Regions from separate parts of the Homo sapiens genome. Here region 2 is linked to region 1. The links are contacts of gene promoters, found by promoter capture Hi-C in human tissues and cell types (Jung and others, 2019). All regions are on one chromosome and are shown on one strand. The core of a region is centred on a gene start or on the middle of the fragment in contact, and the rest is flanking DNA. Distances in the headings are between cores, read along the strand shown.

Evidence for each region. Contacts are between HindIII fragments. The study calls those that stand out against the background at their distance.
Region 2: a fragment that was not itself captured here is called in contact with the fragment with the promoter of NR1D1 in region 1 in 1 of the 25 tissues and cell types used here (lymphoblastoid cells).

The regions. Positions count from the first base shown.
Region 1 is chr17:40,099,261-40,104,737 of GRCh38, reverse strand. It overlaps NR1D1 (nuclear receptor subfamily 1 group D member 1), which reads left to right and starts at 4,149. Exons shown (of 8, transcript NM_021724.5): 1 at 4,149-4,674. The coding sequence starts at 4,644. RefSeq lists enhancers at 3,784-3,903, 4,384-4,453, 3,919-4,902, 4,903-5,477, 4,806-5,477 and 1 more and silencers at 5,235-5,324, 5,335-5,477. The HindIII fragment of the contact is 7,590 bases long and covers 3,470-5,477 here.
Region 2 is chr17:39,681,274-39,686,337 of GRCh38, reverse strand. It overlaps PGAP3 (post-GPI attachment to proteins phospholipase 3), which reads left to right. Exons shown (of 8, transcript NM_033419.5): 2 at 319-416; 3 at 1,589-1,741. Among named protein-coding and RNA genes, the nearest start is that of PGAP3, 4.3 kb to the left of the region's middle. The HindIII fragment of the contact is 6,437 bases long and covers 1-5,064 here.

The DNA.
Region 1 (5,477 bases), core at 2,900-5,399:
AGAATCACACACACACACACACACACGTGCACACATACATAACTGACCAGAGCTTAGTGTTCTCAATACCTTTCCTTCTTCTCCTCTGTGTCTGCTGTCCTCTGCAGTCCAAATAAATCAAGGAAAATTAAAGACATATTTGGAAACACACAGGCAGGATCCAACACTGCCCCTAATGGGAAGGTTCGTCCCCAGAATCCCAGACTTGGGAATCCAAGTGGAAGTGTATGCAGAACCAGGGCAGTGCCTTGCTGTACCAGGTTGTGAATATGCATCTTTTCTACCTGGATCCAATCTGAGTACTATTTATGAAGAGTTAAGTGCTTTCTTGAGTTGAACTGGGCTATGGGAGAAATGGGGTGTGTGTGTGTGTGTGTAGAAGTGAACAGCAGGCCGGGCATGGTGGCTCACGCCTGCTATCCCAGCACTTTGGGAGGCTGAGGTGGGTGGATCACCTTAGGTCAGGAGTTCAAGACCAGCCTGACTAATATGGTGAAACCCCATCTCTACTAAAAATATAAAAAAAATTAGCCAGGCATTGTGGCGTGCTCCTGCAGTCCCAGCAACTTGGGACGCTGAGACAGGAGAATGGCTTAAACCCGGAAGGTGGAGGTTGCAGTGAGCCACTGCACTCCAGCCTGGGCGATAGAGTGGGACTCTGTCTCAAAAAAAAAAAGAAGTGAACAGCAATGTCCAGCTGGAGGGATAGGTGAGGAAGGTTGTGTTGAGATACACCTGTTGTCTTAAGGTCTTACAGCCAAGGTTGAGGTCAAAGAGAAACCAAGATTCTACTCCGAATCACCCAGAGCCAGACAACCCAGCCTTTCCCCCCTCCCTTTGGTGGCTTTGGGTCTCAGAGTTTCTGCCCTTCTCCCAGCAGCTGCTGACAGAGAAAGGAGCAGGGTACACAGACTGACTAGAAGCTTCTGGGGCCAAGAGAGAACCCTGCCTTTTCATTCTGTACTCCTCTCACCAGCTGTAGAAGAAAGACACCCGAATTACTTGTGAGGGAGAAAAGGAAGGGCCCTATAAGAAATGGAAAGGAAGGAAGGAAGGAGCAAGGGGGTAACCCCTCTCCTTTGCCCCCTCCCTCCCAGCCTCTGCCTTCACACCACACACAGACTGCAGAACCACCCAGGTTTTGCCAAGAGGAGAGTCAGGCTGACTGAATTTCAGCTCTCTCTACCTCTGCTCCCTCCTCCTTCTCACTGATTGCAGCAGGCGAGGAGTCTTGACCCACCCCAGCTCCCACTCCTAGAAGAACAAACATCCAGCAAGTATACAGGGGGTGGGTAGGACCTCCACAGCAGCAAACAGAGCTGTGGGCCTTGGGGAGGACCCCGGCCAAGTAAAGGGAGGGTGCTAGTGGTGGTGCTGTGCTGTGGGGAGCTAGATGCACGCCAGGGGTCCTGATTTTGAGTCCAGCCCTGACAGACACCTGGGCTCTGGCCCTGGCTCTGACTTGGAGTCAAGGTCACAGAGAGCAGGCAAGGGCAGGACAGGGCAATTCACCTCCTAGCTTTCCCTCCAGAGCCCAGAGGGTGGAGGGAGAGGGGGTGGAGGCTGAGAACCAAGTTTTCCTGAAAAGCCTCTTTCCTTGTTTGTTTTAGCCCCTCCCAGTTGCTCCCACACTCTGCTGCAGCTTCCCAACTCTGGGCCAAAGGGCCAGAGAAGAGCCCACTGCCCTCTCTCTCCCACTTTTCTTGGGAGCAGGAGAACAAAGCTAAAGCCTAGCCCATTCCAGGAAGCTCATCTTCTACAAGGAGTCAGAGGGTGAGTGGTCAAGCTCCTGCAGTCAACCTCACTGTCCTCACTACCCAGTTTACTCCTGTGCTCATATTATTATTCTTTTTTTTTTTTTCTTTTTTTGAGATGGAGTTTCGGTCTTGTTGCCCATGCTGGAGTGCACTGGCGCGATCTCAGGTCACTGCAACCTCTGCCTCCCGGGTTCAAGCAATTCTCCTGCCTCAGCCTCCCGAGTAGAGTAGCTGGGACTACAGGCGTGCGCCACCACGCCCAGCTAATTTTTGTATTTTTAGTAGAGACGAGGTTTCTCCATGTTGGCCAGGCTGGTCTCAAACTCCTGACCTCGGGTGATCCACCTGCCTCGGCCTCCCCAAGTGCTGGGATTACAGGTGTGAGCCACCACCACACTTGGCCTTTTTTTTTTTTCTTTGAGATGGACTCTCACCCTGTTGCCCAGGCTGTTGTGCAGTGGCATGATCTCGGCTCACTGCAATCTCCATCTCCTGGGTTCAAGCAATTCTCCTGCCTCAGCCTCCCGAGTGGCTGGGACTACAGGCGTGCGCCACCACGCCCAGCTAATTTTTGTATTTTTAGTAGAGATGGGGTTTCACCATGTTGGCCAGGCTGGTCTCGAACTCCTGACCTCAGGTGATCTGCCCACTTCAGCCTCCCAAAATGCTGGGATTACAGGTGTCAGCCACCACCCCCGGACTCCCATATTCTTTTTCTCTACCTTTTCGGTGGCTTTCATGTTTCCCAGGCATCCATCAATACCATCCCAGGAGCTGCCTGTGGAGAAGGGCTTCCTATGTGAAGAAAACCCTCTCTAGAAGCACTGGGACTGGGGAGGAATTAGCGGGAGCAGCAGGTGGCTCAGGCTCCCTCTCCCTTCGCTGCCTAAGAAGCTTCCATCCCCTCCATGACCCAAGCCCTCTAACATGATAGATCTCCTCTACTTGAGATCTGTTATTACTCATGGGACAGTTGCTGCTCTGAAGCGAAATACTGGCTGTTTTTTGTTTGTTTGTTTTGGAGACAGAGTCTCACTCTATCCCCCAGGCCGGAGTGCAATGGCGATCTCGGCTCACTGCAACCTCCACCTCCCGGGTTCTAGCGATTCTCCTGCCTCAGCCTCCTGACTAGCTGGGATTACAGGCACCCACCACCACATCCGGCTAATTTTTGTATTTTTAGTAGAGACGTGGTTTCACCGTGTTGGTCAGGCTGGTCTCAAACTCCTGACCTCAGGTGATCAACCCACCTCAGCCTCACAAAGTGCTGGGATTACAGGCATGAGCCAAAGCACCCGGCAATGCTGGCTGTTTCTAACCCCTGTTCAGTATTTCACTTGTACATCTACCCACCTTCCCATTCGGGGTGGGCAGATGAAACTAGCAATGGACGTCTGACCTTGGGTCGGTCACTTCTCCTAAGCTTCCTGTTCCCCACTAGTAAAAAGAGGGAGGCTTAAGATGATCTACATGTTCCCCTCTGAGTAGTAATCTTCTGTGGAATTCATATTTTATCCTCCAGCACCGAGGGGCAGGGGTGTCACTCTGCCCCCACCCCCTGCCTCACCTCTTCCCCATTACTTTAGGACCTCAAAGCACTTTCACTATTAGTTCCCCTCTGTTGTCCTTTTTATTTCCCAGACAAAGGGAAATGACTCACCCCAAAGTCAACTGGAGTGGGTGGAATGGTGTCATACAAGCAAACAGGGAGTCCCTACAGACATCCCTACCTCTGTGGGAACTCCTTCCCCTGGAGGTGTTCTCCCTAAGGCGAGTAGAAGGGAAAGGGGGTCACATTTCCTTTCCTTCTCTGGACTTTGCCCTGAAGCAGAGGGCAGCCTAAGCTCCTGACTCCAGGGAAATCTCCCTCCCCGGCTTCTCTCTCTCCCGGTCACCAGTAACCTCAGGACGAGGTCAGTCCTGCAATCACGTGAAGCCCTCACGTTTGCAAGGTTTGCAGAAAGGGCCTCTTAGCTTTGATCTCCCAGACAGCAAACAAGCTTGCCAGTCCCTCCCCAGAAATTCACATGCCCCTGCCATACAGGCTTTCTAAACACGCCACCCTGACTCTTCAGCGCACCCCACCCCACCCCACTCTCAGCTCCTCCCAGGTCCCGGCAAGCGCTTTGCCAGGCAGAAAGGGGAAAGGCACGCAGTCCGCCCACTTTGTCGGTGGACTACAAATCCCGACAGTCTTGTCGTTGCGCAGGCGCGCAAGAGCTCAACGTGCCGGCTGTTGGAAAAGTGTGTCACTGGGGCACGAGGCGCTCCCTGGGATCACATGGTACCTGCTCCAGTGCCGCGTGCGGCCCGGGAACCCTGGGCTGCTGGCGCCTGCGCAGAGCCCTCTGTCCCAGGGAAAGGCTCGGGCAAAAGGCGGCTGAGATTGGCAGAGTGAAATATTACTGCCGAGGGAACGTAGCAGGGCACACGTCTCGCCTCTTTGCGACTCGGTGCCCCGTTTCTCCCCATCACCTACTTACTTCCTGGTTGCAACCTCTCTTCCTCTGGGACTTTTGCACCGGGAGCTCCAGATTCGCCACCCCGCAGCGCTGCGGAGCCGGCAGGCAGAGGCACCCCGTACACTGCAGAGACCCGACCCTCCTTGCTACCTTCTAGCCAGAACTACTGCAGGCTGATTCCCCCTACACACTCTCTCTGCTCTTCCCATGCAAAGCAGAACTCCGTTGCCTCAACGTCCAACCCTTCTGCAGGGCTGCAGTCCGGCCACCCCAAGACCTTGCTGCAGGGTGCTTCGGATCCTGATCGTGAGTCGCGGGGTCCACTCCCCGCCCTTAGCCAGTGCCCAGGGGGCAACAGCGGCGATCGCAACCTCTAGTTTGAGTCAAGGTCCAGTTTGAATGACCGCTCTCAGCTGGTGAAGACATGACGACCCTGGACTCCAACAACAACACAGGTACTGAGATTTCTTTACTATCATCTTTTCCCTGTCACTGTCTCCCCACCTCCATCTACGCCTTATAAAAAGAGGAACTTTGTAAGGGACTGGGGTGTCCCTCGGCCCGGAGATTTGCTAACGTGCTGCGGTGCTTTAGTGTGGGATTTCCAGAGCGGCTTGTTCGGGCTGGAAATGCTCTCAGAAACGCCCCATCACCACCCCTCAGAGTCCCAAAGCTCCCTTGAGCCTCGAATCCCTGGGCAGGAGGAAATGGAGAGGAGGTACGGGTGGTGAAGCGAAGAATTTAGGGGGACTGGGAGCTTTGGAACAGTGCCCCGAAACGGCCCCATCTGTCCACTACCTGCAGCTGTAGTATGCCTGGCCTCAGAAAACGGACCCCCTCCCCTCTTGTCTTCCCCCTCCTCTAGTTCCTGCAGGCGCGAGGGAATCTGAGAAGAGTGGCGCGATGGGGTTCAGGGAAGGAGGGGCTGGGAGAATCGTTCGGATCTCACTGGGGAATCCTCAGTGACAGGAGGGAGCGACACTTGAGGAGTCCAGAGCGTGGTGCCCGGCCCGAGGGAGGGCACCTACAGGGCTCCGGCCGCCGGGAGGGCTCACATGGCTCTAGAGCCGGGCCCACGTGCTGCGTTTGTTTTCATTCAGCAGAAGCCGTGGCTGCCACCCCATTGGTCGTTGCCTCCCGGCCTCGTTACATAATGAGCTCCGCCCCCCCGGTCGCCCCGGCAACGCGTGTTCCCTTCTCTCCTCCCCTAGGTTGTCCTGGCCCTGCTATCGTTCGGGGTCCAGCCCACGACCTGGTG
Region 2 (5,064 bases), core at 901-3,400, 420 kb after region 1:
TTGCAGTGAACCGAGATCGCACCATTGCACTCCAGCCTGGGCAACAAAAACAAAACTGTCTCAAAAAAACAAACAAAAAAAAGACGAATATCTCTAATTGCTCACTAAAATATGCATACATACGTACATACACCTTCCCCTATGTGTACATCTCATCATCTCTCATTCATTCAAAGGGGAAGCTAGAATTTTGAGATTTCTCCTGGTTCTCTCCAACTTACAGGCCCTCTTGGCCTACATTTGCGCTTGGACCCCATTCATGCTCTCTCTTTCCTCTCTGTGCTGGGGAGTTCACCAGGCCACATTTGTCTGTTTCAGGCTGGACCTGTCGGGACGACTGTAAGTATGAGTGTATGTGGGTCACCGTTGGGCTCTACCTCCAGGAAGGTCACAAAGTGCCTCAGTTCCATGGCAAGGTGAGTTGGAGGGTCAGGGTAGGCATATGGTAGTAGCGTGGTAGGAGTAATATACCCCCTGGTTGGACCACACTGTCCAAGCAGTCTGAGGCATGGGGTAATGCGTGTGTGTTTGGGGCAGCTACCTGTTCTCCCCAAAATCTGCTGGTTTCCATAGAATTGGATAGGACCCATGTGTCCTGCCTCTGGATTTGGAGTAGCAATATCTGGAAGGCTTTGGAGTCTCCCCAGAGAGTGGTGCTGGGCCTCTTAGAGTGGTTGAGATGCCCACCTTACTGCAGGGACAAATTCCCTTACCTACTGTGGCTTGTTTCCTGTTGCTTCTCCAGTAGGGGTCTGGATTCACAGTAATATGCTTCAGCTTGTCTAGCGAGGCACAGTTTGCTGGTACCTTTCTTTCTTTTGTTTTTTGTTTTTTGTTTTTTTTTTTGAGATGGAGTCTCCCTCTGTCGCCCAGGCTGGAGTGCAGTGGCATGATCTTGGCTCACTGCAACCTCTACCTCCCAGGTTCAAGCAATTCTCATGCCTGAGCCTCCCAAGTAGCTGGGACTACAGGTGTGTGCCACCACACCCAGCTAATTTTTTGTATTTTTTTTTTTTTTTTTTTAAGTAGAGATGGGGTTTCACCATGTTAGCCAGGATGGTCTCAATCTCCTGACCTTGTGACCCTCTCGCCTCAGCTTCCCAAAGTGCTGGGATTACAGGCGTGAGCCACCGCGCCTGGCCTGCTGGTACGTTTCAATCCAGTATTATCTCATTCTGGCCTGTTGAGGTTGGCAGGAAGTATTCACCCCAGTTTTTCACAGAGTAAGCTGAGGCTCAAAGGACCGTGGTCAGTGGTAGAGGAGGGGTTGGGACCTGTGTCTTCTGGATGGCAACTCTGTGCTGTTTCCACCAGGCCATACTGAGTCATCTACCCTGACCCATCTGGTCTTCCCAGAGATCAGGGCTTACAGTGCTGTGCCTGCTGGCCAGGATGGGGGTATAACTCTTAACTAGGCACTGGAGGGTGGCTCATTAGTCTGAAGAGGTACTGAACCTGAGGCTTTGGCCAAACTCCAGAGCTGAGGACTCAGCTGAGGACCTGTTGCTTCAGCATGTCAAGAATAGGTGGACTGGGCCAGTTGAGGGTTGCCTGCCCTTCAAACCTCCTTCATCTGCTCCTTTTTCAGTGGCCCTTCTCCCGGTTCCTGTTCTTTCAAGAGCCGGCATCGGCCGTGGCCTCGTTTCTCAATGGCCTGGCCAGCCTGGTGATGCTCTGCCGCTACCGCACCTTCGTGCCAGCCTCCTCCCCCATGTACCACACCTGTGTGGCCTTCGCCTGGGTAGGTAACCTAGCAGGACTCCTGCTGTCTCCTCTTATCTAGGAAGGTGGAGCTCTACATCCCTATTAACACCCAACAGGGCTTCTACTTACCAGCTTCCCCTCTGTTTCCCAGGGCTAAAGTTGCAGCTGCAGGGTGGTAAAGCCTGGGGAGAAAACAGGGAGGGTGCTGAATCGGGCCTTACCTTTCCAGCAGAGCCCTAGGTCAGGCTGTTTGGGAAGGAGAGAGGAAAGAAGGGCATTTTTCTTGTCCTGAAGAAGGAAGCCACTAAAAGACCCAGTAGGACAGTTTACAAACACAGAGGGGAGATGGGGGGCTAAAGAGGATGCTGGGACCACAGGTCTTTCCAAGGGCCCTTCTGGAGGACTTGGAGCAATCTCAATTCCAGCCCAGGCCTGGTGGGGAGTCACAGCCATAGTCTCTGTGTAGAGCTCAGCCTAGTCTTTTTTTTTTTTTTTTTTTTTTTTTTTTTGAGACAGAGTCTCACTGTGTCACCCAGGCTGGAGTGCAAATGGCGCAATCTTGGCTCACTGCAACCTCCACCTCCTGGGTTCAAGCAATTCTCCTGCCTCAGCCTCCCAAGTAGCTGGGATGATAGGCGCGTGCCACCACACCTGGCTAATTTTGTATTTTTAGTAGAGACGGGGTTTCTCCATGTTGGTCAGGCTGGTCTCGAACTCCCAACCTCAGGTGATCCACCCACCTCGGCCTCCCAAAGTGCAGGGATTACAGTTGTGAGTCACTGCACCTGGCGAGCTCAGCCTAGGCTTAGACCATCCCTGGAGAAGCCCAGGTATGGTTACATCTGCAGGTGCAGAAAGGGCTGTCAGCTTCACAGTACGGCTGGTCTAAAGAGCTGTATTCAGGGCCTGGTATTGTGTGATAAGCACAGACTGGGGTGCAGATATGGACCGTGACGGCCTTGGGAAGGGTGTGAGAATGAAAGGTTGCAACGGATGTCTCTAGGTCGGAGCTGCCCCTGTAAGCCTTAAGGAAAAAATTTCCATTCACTCACCTTCCTGCTCTCACAGAAGCCATTCACTCAGGTGTTGAGCACCTACTATATGCCAGGCACTTTGCTGGAGATCCAGAAGTCTGCCCTCTGGTGCTAATCATACAATTGAATGTAAGAGTACAACTATGAAAAAGTGCAGTCGGGGAGAGGTGCTTCAGGGGTGTGTGTAAAGGCAGACCAAGACCAGCATGGGGCCATCAGGGAAGGCTTCCCTGGGGAAGGGGCATTAAAGGTAAGGTGGGAAGGATGCATGAATGTTAACTAGGTAAATTTGAGAAGAGTAAGGGAAGGCTTCTAAAGAGAAGTCTCAGAAAGTGCCCAGGTGGGAGAGAGGGAGGGTCATTCCAGGCAGCCTGACATGCAGGAAATCAGAGAGTGGGTGTGAGCTGGGCGGACTGATGGGTGGTGGATGGGGCCAGCCATGGAGAGCCTCACATTGGAGATCTTGACTCTCAAAGCATCAGGAAGTACGGAGGGATTTTATTTTATTTTATTTTATTTTATTTGAGACAAAGTCTCACTCTGTTGCCCCAGCTGGAGTGCAGTGGCGCTATCTTGGCTCGCTGCAACCTCTGCCTCCCAGTTCAAGCGATTCTCCTGCCTCAGCCTCCTGAGCAGCTGGGACTACAGGCATGTGCCACCATGCCTGGCTAATTTTTGTATTTTTAGTAGAGATGGGGTTTCACTATGTTGGCCAGGCTGGTCTTGAACTCCTGACCTCGTGATCCGCCCACCTCACCCTCCCAAAGTGCTGGGATTACAGGCATCAGCCACCGTGCTCGGCCTACGGAGGGATTTTAAATGAGGGTTGAGGAGAAAAGTTGTTTCATGAATAGATTTGCCCTTTGGAAAGCTCATTCTGGCTACTGTGTAGAGAACAGATTGAAGGGGGCGGGAGTGGATGCAGTAGACCAGTTGGTAGTTTTAGCACAGGGCCCAGTAGCTAGACTAGAGAGGTGGCATGGGTCTTGGGCATTGAAGAGAAGTACACTTGAGCTGTGTTTTGGAGGTAACATTAAAGCTTTTTAAAAATTTATTTCCTTAACAAATACATACATAGCTCATACTGTATGCCAGGCATCACTCTAAGCATTTTATAAGTATTAAGCTTGTTCATCCATAACAAGTGGCAAAAGACAAATTACAGCAAACTTACTTATAGAGCCAATTGGCTTTAATTTGTGATTCATGAATTGGTGCAGCCTCCGTTCTACAAAATAGAATGCAAGTTTCCATTGGGCAATAGCAGAACAGTGGGTTTTGTAAGGTGGGAACCAGGAAACAGAACAATAGAAAGAAACCTGATTGGTTAACATCAGATTTTTTTTTTTTTTTTTTTTTTTTTTTTTTTTTTTTGAGACAGAGTCTCACTCTGTCACCCAGGCTGGAGTGCAGTGGCGCCATCTTGGCCCACTGCAAGCTCTGCCTTCCGGGTTCACGCCATTCTCCTGCCTCAGCCTCCCAAGTAGCTGGGACTACAGGCGCCCACCACCACACCTGGCTAATTTTTTGTGTGTGTATTTTTAGTAGAGATGGGGTTTCACCATGTTAGCCAGGATAGTCTCGATCTCCTGATCTCGTGATCCGCCTGCCTCGGCCTCCCAAAGTGCTGAGATTACAGGCATGAGCCACTGCGCCCGGCCCACATCAGGTTTTTTTTTATAAGGGTTAAAGCAGAGGAGACTTCCTTACTTGGGTAGACTGGACTCTCCTGTTTTCAGGAAAAAGTGGTCTGTTTTGGGACCTATCAGTTACCTTAAAGTTTCAGTTTGAAGATCAAGTGCGGTGGCTCAGGCGTGTAATCCCAGCACTTTGGGAGGCCAAGGCGGGTGGATCACCTGAGGTCAGGAGTTCAAGACCAGCCTGACCAACATGAAGAAACCCTGTCTCTACTAAAAATACAAAATTAGCTGGGCATAGTGTTGCATGCCTTTAGTACCAGATACTTGGGAGGCTGAGGCAGGAAAATCACTTGAACCCGGAAGGCGGAGGTTGCGGTGAGCTGAGATCACGCCATTGCACTCCCGCCTGGGCAACAACAGTGAAACTCCGTCTCAGAAAAAAAAAAAGTTTCAGTTTGATTATGTGGCATTTAGCATGAGTGACTTCATTTTTGTCTGGTCTCTTGGGTCTAGTGCGGGGGCTCAATCCAGAACAATGGCCTCCCGTAATTTTTGTTTAACGCAGCTTATAGGTATTATTATTCTCATCCCCAGTTTATAGATGAGGAAACCAAGGACTGAAAAGGTTAAGTCCAGCCACAGATCACCGAGCCAGGGTTTGAATTCAGGCATCTGGCTCCAGAGTC